2 separate regions of the Homo sapiens genome follow, and region 2 is linked to region 1. The links are contacts of gene promoters, found by promoter capture Hi-C in blood cells and fetal thymus (Javierre and others, 2016). All regions are on one chromosome and are shown on one strand. The core of a region is centred on a gene start or on the middle of the fragment in contact, and the rest is flanking DNA. Distances in the headings are between cores, read along the strand shown. Region 1 holds the start of ASIC1 (acid sensing ion channel subunit 1). Region 2 overlaps TMBIM6 (transmembrane BAX inhibitor motif containing 6).

What was found. The method cuts DNA at HindIII sites, captures the fragments that hold promoters and counts their contacts. A CHiCAGO score of 5 or more calls a contact.
Region 2: a fragment that was not itself captured here is called in contact with the fragment with the promoter of ASIC1 in region 1 in 1 of 17 cell types (M0 macrophages); the score reaches 5.5 in M0 macrophages.

What each region holds. Positions count from the first base shown.
Region 1 is chr12:50,053,012-50,059,158 of GRCh38, forward strand. ASIC1 (acid sensing ion channel subunit 1) reads left to right here and starts at 4,585. Exons shown (of 12, transcript NM_001095.4): 1 at 4,585-4,905; 2 at 5,740-6,117. The coding sequence starts at 5,756. RefSeq lists silencers at 4,388-4,547, 4,618-4,787. The HindIII fragment of the contact is 9,166 bases long and covers 1-5,505 here.
Region 2 is chr12:49,760,102-49,767,010 of GRCh38, forward strand. TMBIM6 (transmembrane BAX inhibitor motif containing 6) reads left to right here. Exons shown (of 10, transcript NM_003217.3): 9 at 1,603-1,678; 10 at 2,772-4,833. The coding sequence ends at 2,795. Among named protein-coding and RNA genes, the nearest start is that of TMBIM6, 22 kb to the left of the region's middle. RefSeq lists a silencer at 6,271-6,471. The HindIII fragment of the contact is 996 bases long and covers 1,908-2,903 here.

The DNA of each region.
Region 1 (6,147 bases), core at 3,335-5,834:
TAGGTCCCCAGCCCCTTCCCAGTGCGTGCTAATTAACTCCTTAATTGTCTCTGCATTTGCTGAGCCGGCAGATGAAGTGGATGCAGACAGATTGGGGCGCGTGTGATTTCATGCACGGGGGAGCGGAGAAGAGCTGCCTGGAAATCCCAGGGGGTCTTGTCCCCCTCTTTACCCTCCCTCTTCACCCATCTCTGAGAGGCTGGAGGGCGCTTCTGCACCTAAAGCAGATGGGGCCATCTGCAAGGGAAGCATCCATGGGGAATTTGCCCCCATCAGCCTTTCAGGGATGATCATAATGCTTGCCACTATTGATGGAACACCCCCTACTGTTTGCTAGACACACATTGTTTCAACAGCATGGGCATTAGCTGGGTTTTATGGTTTCTGGAGAAAAGTGAGACTCAGGCTAGGTTACTTGCCCAGGGCCACACAGCACTGGTGTGACAGAGCTGAGATTTGAACCTAGGTGAGCACAAGGCCAAAGTCCTAAGTGGGCCCTGGCTAGATGCCTCCTGCCAGCAGAAGGAGAAATATCTTCAGGCCTGTTTCCCTCTCAGTCCGTGGTGGGGATAAAGGGTACTGAGGTCTAAGGACTGCAGGGTCCAGAGAAAACGAAGCATGGAGAAGAAGCTGGGAGGATGCTGAAGGAGCCAGTATCCTCTGTCAGGACTTGGACAAGGGGTGGGTGGGCCAGAGAAGCAGAAAGAAGTAATGAGACACTAATCACAGCCCTTGGATCCCTCAAGTGTTATCTTACTAAGGCCCTGCCAACACCAACTTCCTCTTTTCCTCATCCTTGTCCCACAAACCCCTGTCAGAGTGACTGCCCCCCTGCCTCTCTCTGCTGGCAGCCCTGGCTCAGCCTTCTATTTCACTCCTGGCCCTTGCACTAGAGTCACAAGTCAACATGTTTGTCTCTCTTTCCACACTGGGATATTTTGAGGCAAGGACTCTGCCAATCCTCACCATGTCCACAGGGCCAATCTTGGGGCTTGATCCAGGAAAACCCTCGGTGAAGGTTTGCTGCGATGTACAGGGTAGGGATGAGGGGATGTGTGTGTGCAAGGACCCATCACTTCTCAAACGAAGAAGAAACAACAGCATGAGGGATTTAGGTTGTATATAAGAAAGAACTTCCTAAGACTGGGGCCTGTGACACTATGAAACCATAATTCAGACCCATAAGTTCTGAAGAGCAAGGTTGCTCAAGATTGGCTATATGTTAAAGGCCTCAAAAAGTTGGGCGATTGTCCGGGCGCAGTGGCTCATGCCTGTAATCCCAGCACTTTGGGAGGCCAAGGTGGGTGGATCACCTGAGGTCGGGAGTTCAAGCCTACATGGTGAAACCCCCAGCTCTACAAAAGATACAAAAAATTAGCCGGGCGTCGTGGTGTGCGCCTGTAATCCCAGCTACTCGGGAGGCTGAGGCAGAAGAACCTCTTGAACCGGGGAGGCGGAGGTTGCAGTGAGCCGAGATTGTGCCATTGCACTCCAGCCTGGGCGACAGGGTGAGACCCCAACTTAAAAAAAAAAAAAAAAAAAAAGGCCGGGTATGGTGGCTCACGCCTATAATCCCAGCACTTTGGGAGGCTGAGACGGGTGGATCACAAGGTCAGGAGATTGAGACCATCCTGGCTAACACGGTGAAACCCCGTCTCTACTAAAAATACAAAAAACTTTGCCAGGTGTAGTGGCGGGTGCCTGTAGTCCCAGCTACTTGGGAGGCTGAGGCAGGAGAATGGCGTGAACCCAGGAGACTGAGCTTGCAGTGAGCCAAGATCGCGCCACAGCCCCAGAGATTCTGATTTAACTGGTCTAAAGTGGAGCCATGGCATTGCAGTTTTTTTTTTTTTTTTCTGAGACAGAGTCTCGCTCTGTTGCCCAGGCTAGAGTGCAGTGGCACGATCTCCGATCACTGCAACCTCTGTCTCCCGGGTTCAAGCACTTCTGCCTCAGCCTCCTGAGTAGCTGGGATTACAGGTGCGTGCCACCACGCCTGGCTAATTTTTGTATTTTCTGTGGAGGCAGGGTTTCACCATGTTGGCCAGGTTGGTCTCCTGACCTCAGGTGATCCACTCACCTCGGCCTCCCAAAGTGCTGGGATTGCAGGCGTGAGCCACCACGCCTGGCTGGCATTGCAGTTTTATCTTATTATTTTTATTTTTTGAAATGGAGTTTCGCTCTTGTCTCCCCGGCTAGAGTGCAATAGCACAATCTCGGCTCACTGCAACCTCCGCCTCCCAGGTTCAAATGATTCTCCTGCCTCAGCCTCTCGAGTAGCTGGGATTACAGGTGCCCGCCACCACGCCCAGCTACTTTTTGTATTTTTAGTAGAGATGGGTTTCACCATGTTGGCCAGGTTGGTCTCAAACTCCTGACCTCAGGCGATCCACCCTCCTCTGCCTCCCAAAGTGCTGGGATTACAGGAGTGAGCCACCGCGCCCAGCTGGCATTGCAGTTTTAAAAGCTCCCCAGGTGATTCGAATGTGCAGCCTGGGTTAAGAACCAGTGCCTTAGATTCTGCCCTGGTTTGGCTGCACTGGTGGTTTTACCACTAGATCCAAATGCTAATACTAATAATAGTTATTTACTTATTGGGATTTACTAGGTACATGCCAATGTACTAAGCACTTTCCATGCGTTAGCTCATGTAATCCTCGAAAAATCCTGTGAAATAAATATTATCTCTGCCTTACAGATGAGGAAACCGAGGTCCAGAGAGGTCAAGGGGCCTGCCTATGCTAATGAATGGCAGGGCCAGGTCTGGAAGCTGATTCTCCTGATTCATACCTTCTGTCTTCCCCCAGACTCCTCCTGAGGCTGCTCCTTGGCCTCAATCAGTCCTCGCCTGCCTCCACCTCACCTCATCACCTTCCCTCCACCCCCGCTGCTCCCTCAGTAACATCCCAGGTGACTGAAGCAATTGCAGCCATTTGAAGAGGCTCCACGTGTCAGTCAGCCTGCGAGCCGCGGGGAGGTGGGGAAATTACAGATGCTCCAAAATAGTGTTCCCCTCCCCCTGAGGATATTTGGAATTCAGGAATCAGACTCTGCCTGATGCTTCCTCAGGTCTCTGGGACCCTCCCAGGTGATTTCCCACTCTCAAATGCCCCCCACGAGTTGATTCTAAGTATCTGGGAGAGGGCTGCCACCCAGTGGCTGCCCGGGGGCATAGCAACCCTCCAGCACTGCCTGGTACCGCTGAACAGCTCCCCAAGACCTGAATGGAAGATCCTCCCTTCCTTTTGGCAGCTCCGTGTCCAGTCCCCTAGTAAATGGATCTCGACCTCCCTCCTCCACAATCTTAAGTCCACTCTCCCACTAGGGACCTCCAGACCCCTTCTCTGGTTTCCTAGATGTCCACTACTCCCAACTTCTCATCCAACTTCTTTCCAATGTGCCATCCCCTTCTCGTTACAGGTTTTCTTCTAACTTAAAGCCCGGCACCATGTCCTAGGAATACACCTCTCACCATCCTTCTCCCCGAGCCGCACCAGCCTGCAAGTAGAGCGAAGGAGCCACTAGAGACAGAACTCTGGTCCCCCGCACCCTCCTCCTCATCATCTGACACCATCAGACCTCAACAGCCTCTGTGCTAAGAGCCCCTAATGAGCATCAGCAAATTAACAACTTCCCCTTGATTGCTCCTTCTCTGTTAATTGGATAGGGAGGGCCCCCCTCCCCAAGGCCTCTCAGAGAAGAGGAGGGAGGCAGGGAAGGAGAAAGGTGAGAGCCACAGGAGCAGCCCCCAGGCCTGCGTTCTGTGCTGAGACTTCTGCTCCATCCCTGAGCATAGCTCCCCGTTCCAACCCTTCCTCACCCTGTCCCCTTCACTCCCTTTGCCTCCTTCCTTCTGTCCAAATTCCCTTGACCTCTGGCTATTTTTCCTTCCTTTTCTCTGCTCCTTCTTTGGAGATTTGGCAGTAAGGGGTTGCGACCATGCCCCCCACAAGCCCAAAGCTACAAGGATGGGATCTGAGTGGTCAAGGCTGCGTGTTGGCTCACATATGTGCACGTGTATATGTGTCACATGCAGGTGGGAGCAGGGATAAGAGCAGGTGAGTGCTTGCCATGTGGGTCAGGCCCCCGGGATACGTGGACATCTGTTGCGGGGGGGTGTGGTTGTGAATGGTGTGGTGTGACTCTGGTCGGTATGTGTGTCTGTCTCCATATGGGCTAAGTGCTTGAATTAGTCAAGTGTGACTCGGAGCGTGTGTGTGTATGTGTGTGTGTACGCGCGTGTGTGCCACCAGAGGAAGCAGCAGCAAGAGGCAGGAGCATCGATCCGAAGGAGACAGCGCGGGGAGAGGGACGCTAGGGGCAGACACCCTCCCTCCTGCGCGCACACACGCGCGCGCGCACACACACCACACACAGAGTCATACACACAAGCCATAGGGCCTCGCAGGCAGGGAGACGGCTCCGGGACTGGAGAGAGGCAGCGCCGCCGAAAGCGGCCGCGAGGAGGGGCGAGGCGGCGCGGGGAGCCCTGGGTCCCGCTCCCGGATCCGGGGCCCCGCGCGCACACCAGCCCAGAGACAGCCTCGCAGACACTCGTAGGCGCGCACGCGCACCCTCTCCCCTCCCCCTCCCCTCCCGCCGCCTCCCGGCCGGACGATGGATCCCTGCAGATCCCAGGGCTGAGAGCACCGCGCACCGCGCCGAGCCCGGGCAGACCGAGCCGAGGCGAGCGAGCCAGCGAGCCAGCGCGCGCGGGCGGGCGGACAGATCGGAGCCGAGCGGGGCCGGGCGGGGCGCTCCCTGCAGGGCTCTGCGCGGCGTGCCGCGGCGGCCGCGGGCTCCGGCCCCGGGCCATGAGCCCCTCCGCGACTCGGCGCTGAGCCCGCCACCGGTCCAGCGCCCCAGGACCCGCCGCCGGCTGCCGGCTTGCCGAAGCCCCCTCAGGTGGGTTTCCGATACCCCTGCCTTTGGCCGCGAGGCTCCTCGGTACCCCGAAGCCGGGACTCTCCTCCCTCTGGATTTCCCTTGCTGCTGGGGCGGCTCGGTGGCTGGGGAGGGGGGCGGGGGCCGAGCTGGGGATCTGACTGCGACGAGAAGCTGGACTGGGGGGGGCTGCGTCCGGGGCGGGGACAGCTCGCTGTCATAGGGAACCGCGCCCCCCCTCCATACATCCACCTCGGGCAGCCCGCCACCCCCCACTCCCAACATACACACAGCCTGCGCTTATGTGAGAACTGGAGACACCCGCAGGTGAGGACTCAGGCTGGGCCCCTCCCTAGATGTAGCCACCTCCCTGGGGGTTTTCTGGCCCCAGTTTAGCCCTTAGGACCACAGCCCCGTCCAGGGAATACCCGTGACCAGGACAGGAGCTCCTTACCCCGGGGTCAGCCCATCTGGGTGAGTTTTCATCTCCAGGATGGGGTGGATATTCTTGTCCCAGAGTGACCCCACATCTGGAGGGAACTCCTGCGCCTGCCTATGGGTGCATCAGGACTTCCCCCTCAACCTCGGATGACTATATCTGGGGTCTCCCCGGGCCTGGGAAGCTTCTCTGGGGAGCATTCTCTTGGCCTGACCTGACCCCCTGTGCCTCTGTATTTGGAGGAACCCTGGATGTGTCCCTTGGTCAGCCACCTCTGGGCTTGCAAAGCAGGGAAGTCTTCTGCCCGAGGAGTGGTGACCTCTGGAGATGAGGATTCTGGATGGGCACATGTGGAGGGGCTCCATGTGTACTTTCATCCCAGGACAATGATAGACTGTCCCTCCCTCCTCCCCCAGGATCCCCTCAACAAGGATGGAACTGAAGGCCGAGGAGGAGGAGGTGGGTGGCGTCCAGCCGGTGAGCATCCAGGCCTTCGCCAGCAGCTCCACACTGCACGGCCTGGCCCACATCTTCTCCTACGAGCGGCTGTCTCTGAAGCGGGCACTGTGGGCCCTGTGCTTCCTGGGCTCCCTGGCTGTGCTGCTGTGTGTGTGCACGGAGCGTGTGCAGTACTACTTCCACTACCACCATGTCACCAAGCTCGACGAGGTGGCTGCCTCTCAGCTTACCTTCCCTGCTGTCACGCTGTGCAACCTCAACGAGTTCCGCTTTAGCCAAGTCTCCAAGAATGACCTGTATCATGCTGGGGAGCTGCTGGCCCTGCTCAACAACAGGTGGGTGGCTCCCACCCTCCCTCAGCCCTG
Region 2 (6,909 bases), core at 1,156-3,655, 300 kb before region 1:
ACTCCTTCTCAAAAAAAAAAAAAAAAAAAGTGTTGGGGGGTGGCTATATATTTACATATCCATAGTGGCTACCTCCAAGCAGAAGTGAGGGAAAGAGATCTTTCTCCTTTTCCTATTTATACTTCTGTATTTTTTAAACAATGAGTAGAAGATACACTCTTTTTTTAGAGACAGGGTCTCGCTCTGTTGCCTAGGCAGTAGTGTGGTGCCATGAACACAGCTCGCTGCAGCCTGAATTTACTGTGCTCAAGCAGTACTCCTGCCTCAGCCTCTTGAGTAGCTGGGACAACAGGCACGTGCGACCATGCCAGGCTAATTTATTTTTTGTAGAGATGGGGTCTTACCATATGCCCAGATTGGTCTCAAGCAGTCCTCTTGCCTTGGTTTCCCAAAGTGTTGGGATTACAGGCTTAAGCCACCATGCCCAGCCACTTTTTTTTTTTTTTTTTTTTTTTGAGACAGTTTTGCTTTGTCACCCAGGCTGGAGTGCGGTGGCAACATCTCAGCTCACTGCAACCTCCGCCTCCTGGGTTCAAGCGATTCTTGTGCCTCAGCCTCCCTAGTAGCTGGGATTACAGGCACTCTCCACCACGTCCAGCTAATTTCTGTAATTTTAGTAGAACGAGGTTTTGCCACGTTGCCCCGTGAGGACATGGTGTCGAACTCTTGGCCTCAAGCAATCTGCCTTCCTCAGCCTCCCAAAGTGGTGGGATTACAGACATGGGCCACCATGCCCAGCTCACTTTTTTTTTTTTGAGACGGAGTTTCGCTCTTGTTGCCCAGGCTGGAGTGCAACGGTGTGATCTTGGCTCACCGCAGCCTCCGTCTCCCGGCTTCAGGTGTTTCTCCTGCCTTAACATCCTGAGTAGCTGGGATTACAGGCATGCACCACCATGCCCGGCTAATTTTGTATTTTTAGTAGAGATGGGGTTTCTCCATGTTGGTCAGGCTGGTCTCAAACTCCTGACTCAGGTGATGCCCGCCTCAGCCTTCCAAAGTGCTGGGATTACAGGTGTGAGCCACTGTGCTCGGCACTTTTTTTTTAATGTAGTGATTCTCTCAGTCTCATGACTAATTAGTGGTAGTTAAGGGTTCAGACTTGGACCTCTGCAGAGTTCAGAGCGCTTGAGACAGGGCTTGCTCTGTCACCCAAGCTGCAGTAGGAGAGTGGCACTGTCATGGCTTACTGTAGACTCAAGCTCCCTGGGCTCAGGTGTTCCTCCCATCTCAGCCTCCTCAGTAGCTGGGATTACAGGCACATGCCACAATGCCCTGCTAATTTTTGTAGAGACGGGATTTTGCTATGTTACCCAGGTTGGTCTCGAACTCCTGGGCTCAAGCAGTCCACCTGCCTCAGCCTCCCAAAATGTTGGGATTACAGGCATGAGCCACTGTGCCTGGCCCAGTCTCTTTTCTCTATGCTGCATGACTTCGATGAGTCTAAAGGATCTCAGACACCAGAGTTTTACTTCCTTAGTTGGGGGTAAAGTGTGGGAGAAGCTGGCTCGTGGGGGTAGGGGTGGGGTTTATATTCTGCATCTTTGTGGGCTTGTGGATAAAAAAGTCTGAAGTACAGATCCTAATCTGGTTCTTGCCTTTCAGGCACTGCATTGATCTCTTCTTAGATTTCATTACTGTCTTCAGAAAACTCATGATGATCCTGGCCATGAATGAAAAGGTTAGTTAGCCTACAACCCAAAGATGAGACAATAATGGCTCCTGAGCTTGGCATGTGTGTATACTTCAGATTTGAAAACTTGCTCACACACTGTGTTAGGTCCAGGGTAACTGTAAGGCAGGCCACTGAGTAAGAGGTAAGCCAGAAGTCTTCAGTTGTTAGAAAAAAAGCAGCAAGTGAAAAAAAAATTTTTTTAACTAATTCCTGCGTTTAGTATGAAAGGGAAAAAAGCTTCAGTGGCAGTAAACACAACCTGCTACATGAATAATTTAAAGGCTATATAGTTGTGACTCAGAGAAAGGTATTGTGGAGGACGTTGTAAATTTCAGAAGTAGACTAATTTTATCCATTTGTTAATTTTTTTTTCCAAGGAAGCATTCTATATAGGGCTAATGAGTATCTAACGTAGTTGAGTCAAGCAGTGGGGGAAACAAATGAAATGAGCTTTTCTTTATAGACCTTATGGAGCTTAGAGATAGCATAGTGGTAGCGGGAGTAGTTGACCAGATAGGATTGCTGGCTCTGTCTGGGCTATGCCATGGTTGGACTGAGCACTAGGCAGATGTACAAGTTTCAGAACAAGCAACTGAATTTTCATTCCTTAATACATTGGGCTTCCATCCAAGATTGAATGAAGAATTCTGCTGGACCAAATTATTTCTGAATGTCAGTTTATGCCAGAGTCATGCTCACTTTGCAGGGTGGAGCACTTCTCGCGCCTAATGGTTGGTTGGTGGTCTTGGCCTCTAGTTTCACTCTTTGAGGATAGAGTGCCATCTGCAGCCTTCACTGTTGGGATCTGAGCTGTAGTGGCTGTGAATAGCCTAGAGTGGTCAGGCAGCCCACCTCGGCACTCCTGGGGTGGGGGTGGGGACAGCTGCTTAACCTTTATTCTTGGTCGGTCTGTCGGCAACTTTGGGAACCACCAGTAGGATGTGGTTAAGATTCAGTTCTTGCTGAGCTAAGGAAGCATTTCTCATTTCTTTTTAATTGTCTGGCTCACTTCTAGTCCCTAACTAAATGCTCACTCAAGAGTTTTAGCTTGAATGTCAAATGTCAAAAAATTAATTGGGTGATTTTTCTCCATTTCTAGGATAAGAAGAAAGAGAAGAAATGAAGTGACCATCCAGCCTTTCCCAATTAGACTTCCTCTCCTTCCACCCCTCATTTCCTTTTTGCACACATTACAGGTGGTGTGTTCTGTGATAATGAAAAGCATCAGAAAAGCTTTTGTACTTTGTGGTTTCCTCTATTTTGAATTTTTTGATCAAAAAACTGATTAGCAGAATATAGTTTGGAGTTTGGCTTCATCTTCCTGGGGTTCCCCTCACTCCCTTTTTTGTCAACCCCATCTGTAGCCTCTTCCTCTACTCAGGCAGTCGACCCGCCACGATGAGAAGTGGGACCAGCAGAGGGCGCCAACTTCAGGAGTCCGCTTTCCCACCAGGCTTCATTCACCCAGTGGACCTGAACTGTTTGGTAGAGCCACCCGGCCCTTCCTTCCTCATTGTTGTTTGGTATGCGCACAGTTCCTGTGGGACTGGGCCGTGAGTTTTCCATTGGAAAGAAGTTCAGTGGTCCCATTGTTAACTCAGCCTCAAATCTCAACTGTCAGGCCCTACAAAGAAAATGGAGAGCCTCTTCTGGTGGATGCTTTGCTCCCTCTGAGCTGCCCATGCTGGTCTGGCAAACACACCTTTCTGCTTTGCCTTCACAAAAGTAATGTGTTCCCTTTCCCACCCCTTGCCTGACCCTCAGGGAGTCAGCCTGCTTCCATCCATGGGTGGGAAGACTTCAGCACAAAGGAAAGACTAATTCTTGTCAGGCATTTTTGAAAAGGCTGATTATGTGTATCAAGGTACAGCATCGTAGGGTTCCCCTAAACTTGCCCTGTTTTTGTTTTTTTAGTTTGTTATCCCCTTACTGAGCGGCCTCTACTAGGTGGCTGTGATTAAATGTCCCAAGCAAGGATAGGGAAGGGGAATGGTTGAGCCTCTGGAGATCATTGTAACCAATCCTGCCAGACCTGTTTGGGGCAGTGGGGAGCAAACCTAGATAAGGACCTGTTTGGGGCAGCAGGGAGCAAAATCTCCTTTAACAACCAAGCAGTTCCTCATTCACATCAACAGAGCGAGGCTGTGATAACTTAGGAGGCAGCAATCCTAATAGTCCTTCAGTGCATTTTAGTCTGTCTCCAACTGGACACCAGTAGGTAGTGTCAAGCCAGAGATTCGGGGCAGTAGATAAATGTTCATTTTACTGATGCACTTTAGTTTTTGGTCTGTTACCTGTTTTCCAGAAATTTGTGGCCTTTTAGGCGGGAGTTAGGCGACCAAACCAGTGAGAGCCCCAATCCCTGCAGTTTTGTGGCTTCAAGTGTGGGTGGACAGTCCTAATGGGGATCTCCAGCTCCTTCCTGTGGGCTGCCACAGACAGCTACCCCCAGAAGGGTCAATGTTGGGAGTGGTTGTGGCTCTGAGCTGCTCTACAGAGCTTCAGTGTGAGAGGATCGAGCCATTGAAAGCTCATTACCAGTAGGACATAATTTTTGGCTCTCCCTATTCACAACCAGTGCACAGTTTGACACAGTGGCCTCAGGTTCACAGTGCACCATGTCACTGTGCTATCCTACGAAATCATTTGTTTCTAAGTTGTGTTTATTCCTGGAGTGACATGCCACCCCGAATGGCTCACTTTCACTGAGGATGCTGTCCTCTGATTTAGCTGCTGCCTCCAGCCTCTGGCTTGAGAACTTACTAAAGGCACTTCCTTCCTGTTAAACCCCTGTTAACTCTCCATAAATTTGGTGATTCTCTGCTAGGCCTAAGATTTTGAGTTAACATCTCTTGAAGCCAAACTCCACCTTCTGTGCTTTTTGCTTGGGATAATGGAGTTTTTCTTTAGAAACAGTGCCAAGAATGACAAGATATTAAAAAAAAAAAAGAAAGAAAAAAAAAAAAACACCTACTTTTAAAGAAAATACCTAACAGATTTTTAATATAGTTATCTCTACCACTTTCTTTTCTAGTTTCTTGATTTTCAGCTCAGGCTGCATTCTAACTCATACTGTGAAGACAAAGGTGTTTTTGATTCAGAAATATATGAAATCTGCATAGTCTTAATTTGTAAAAAATAAAGAAAATTCCTTAACCTTTCCTGGTGTTTGTGTTAAATTCAAGGGTACAGCTGGTCATGGAGCTTGTGATACTGCCAGGGTTTGCTACTGGGGGCTGGGAGTGGGACACGATTGAGTTCGTGTCATAAGTATGAACAGAGACAAAGACCTCCCACTCTGTAGCCCCAGCATGCCACAAATGTTGAGAATTTTCTCTGTCAAATATGTAAGCCAGTTTTTTTTCCAGTCCTCTCCACCCCCTGCCACCTTTGCTATATGTTGTTTGTGGTGATATGTGCAGTTGGTTCAGATGTGCAGCCAAGCTTTGGAGTTTGAGGATGCATAATGGAAAAAAGGCAAATGATACCCACTCATTCTGCAAGTATTTTTGTTCACCCACTGCTGCCCGGCTGTATTCTAAGTGCATTAGTTAATAAAGATGTAAAAGTTGGCCAGGCATGGTGGCTTATGCCTGTAATCCCAGCACTTTGGGAGGCCAAGGTGGGCAGATCTCGAGGTCAGGAGTTCAAGACCAGTCTGGCCAACATGGTGAAACCCCATCTCTACTAAATACACCAAAAAAAAAAAAAAAAAAAAAAAATTAGGCAAAGTGGCAGGCACTTGTAATCCCAGCTACTTGGGAGGCTGAGGCAGGAGAATTACTTGAACCTGAGAGGTGAAGGTTGCAGTGAGCTGAGATGCACCACTGCATTCCAGCCCGGGTGACAGAGAAAAAAAGTCGGCCAGGCGTGGTGGCTCACGCATGTAATCCCAGCACTTTGGGAGGTCGAGGCAGGCGGATCACCTGAGGTCAGGAGTTTTGAGACCAGCCTGGCTAATAAGGTGAAACCCCGTCTCAACTAAAAATAACAAAAAATAGCCCGGCATGGTGGTGGGCGCCTGCAGTGCCAACTACTCGGGAGGCTGAGGCAGGAGAATCGCTTGTACCCGGGAGGCAGAGGTTGCAGTGAGCCGAGAGCGCACCACTGCACTACAGCCTAGGCGACAGAGACTCCCATCTCAAAAAAATAATAAAAGTCCTTGTCATAGTTCAGATATGAGATTATCAATCGGAACTTGCATTACAATCAGGTTGCTCAATTCTGTGTTTGTGTTTTTGTTTTGATTTTTGGAGACAGGGTCATGGTCTTGCCCTGTCACCCAGGCTGTAGTGCAGTGATGCGATCATGGCTCACAGCAACCTCAGTCACCTGAGCTCAAGTGATCCACCTCAGCCTCCCGAGTAGCTGGGACCACAGGAACATGCCACTGCACCCCGCTGATTTAATTTTTGTAGAGGTGGGATCTCACCATGTTGCTCAGGTTATGTTGAACTCGTGTTCCTCAAACGATCCACCTTAGCCTCCCAAAGTGCTGGGATTATAGGCTTAAGCCACCATGCCGAGCCTAGTAGCTCAATTTTACCATGCTTGTTCTCCGCTTGTCATATTCATTGTAGACCCAGGCCTTCCTGTTAGAATTTGACCATTATTCTGACTGGTTCATCTAGGTTACTCCCAGTTGACCTGTTCGGACTCCACATGTGCCCGTGCCAACTAAGGATAGCCATTTTCCTTAAGCTTGGGAAATATTCCTTAAGCATCTTTTCTCTCTTGCTGACTTTGAGAAAAGACTGGTCCTAAAGACTCTTTAAAGCCCCCATTTTATCTGCTAGGGGAGAAGTACAAGGTGCAACACCTTTTGAGTGTTTACAAGGTCAGGCACTGTACAAAGTGCCTTACATGGATTGCTTAACATCCCCAGTAGTTTAAGAAGATGGTGTATTTACTACGTACGGTCAGTTACTTCCAGGGCTGGCAGATGTGTGCCCAGAAAGAATCTAGGCACACTATCTCCAGAGCCCCTATCCTTTACTGTTAACCTATGTAAGCAGTGTTAAGGTTAGTCCTCCTGGGCTGGAGTCATCCTTTCCATCCTGACCTACATCCTGGCTATGGCTCTGGCCAAGGGTGGAAAGGGAAATTGTGAAGGGGTTTGAGCAAAATCTCCCCACCCCAAATCTTTGTAACCAAAGAAACGTAGAAGAGTGAGCGGCCTTTTTAGTCTTTCTTCCCCCAGCCAGCCCACCAATTACCAATTAAATGGAAGAGGATAA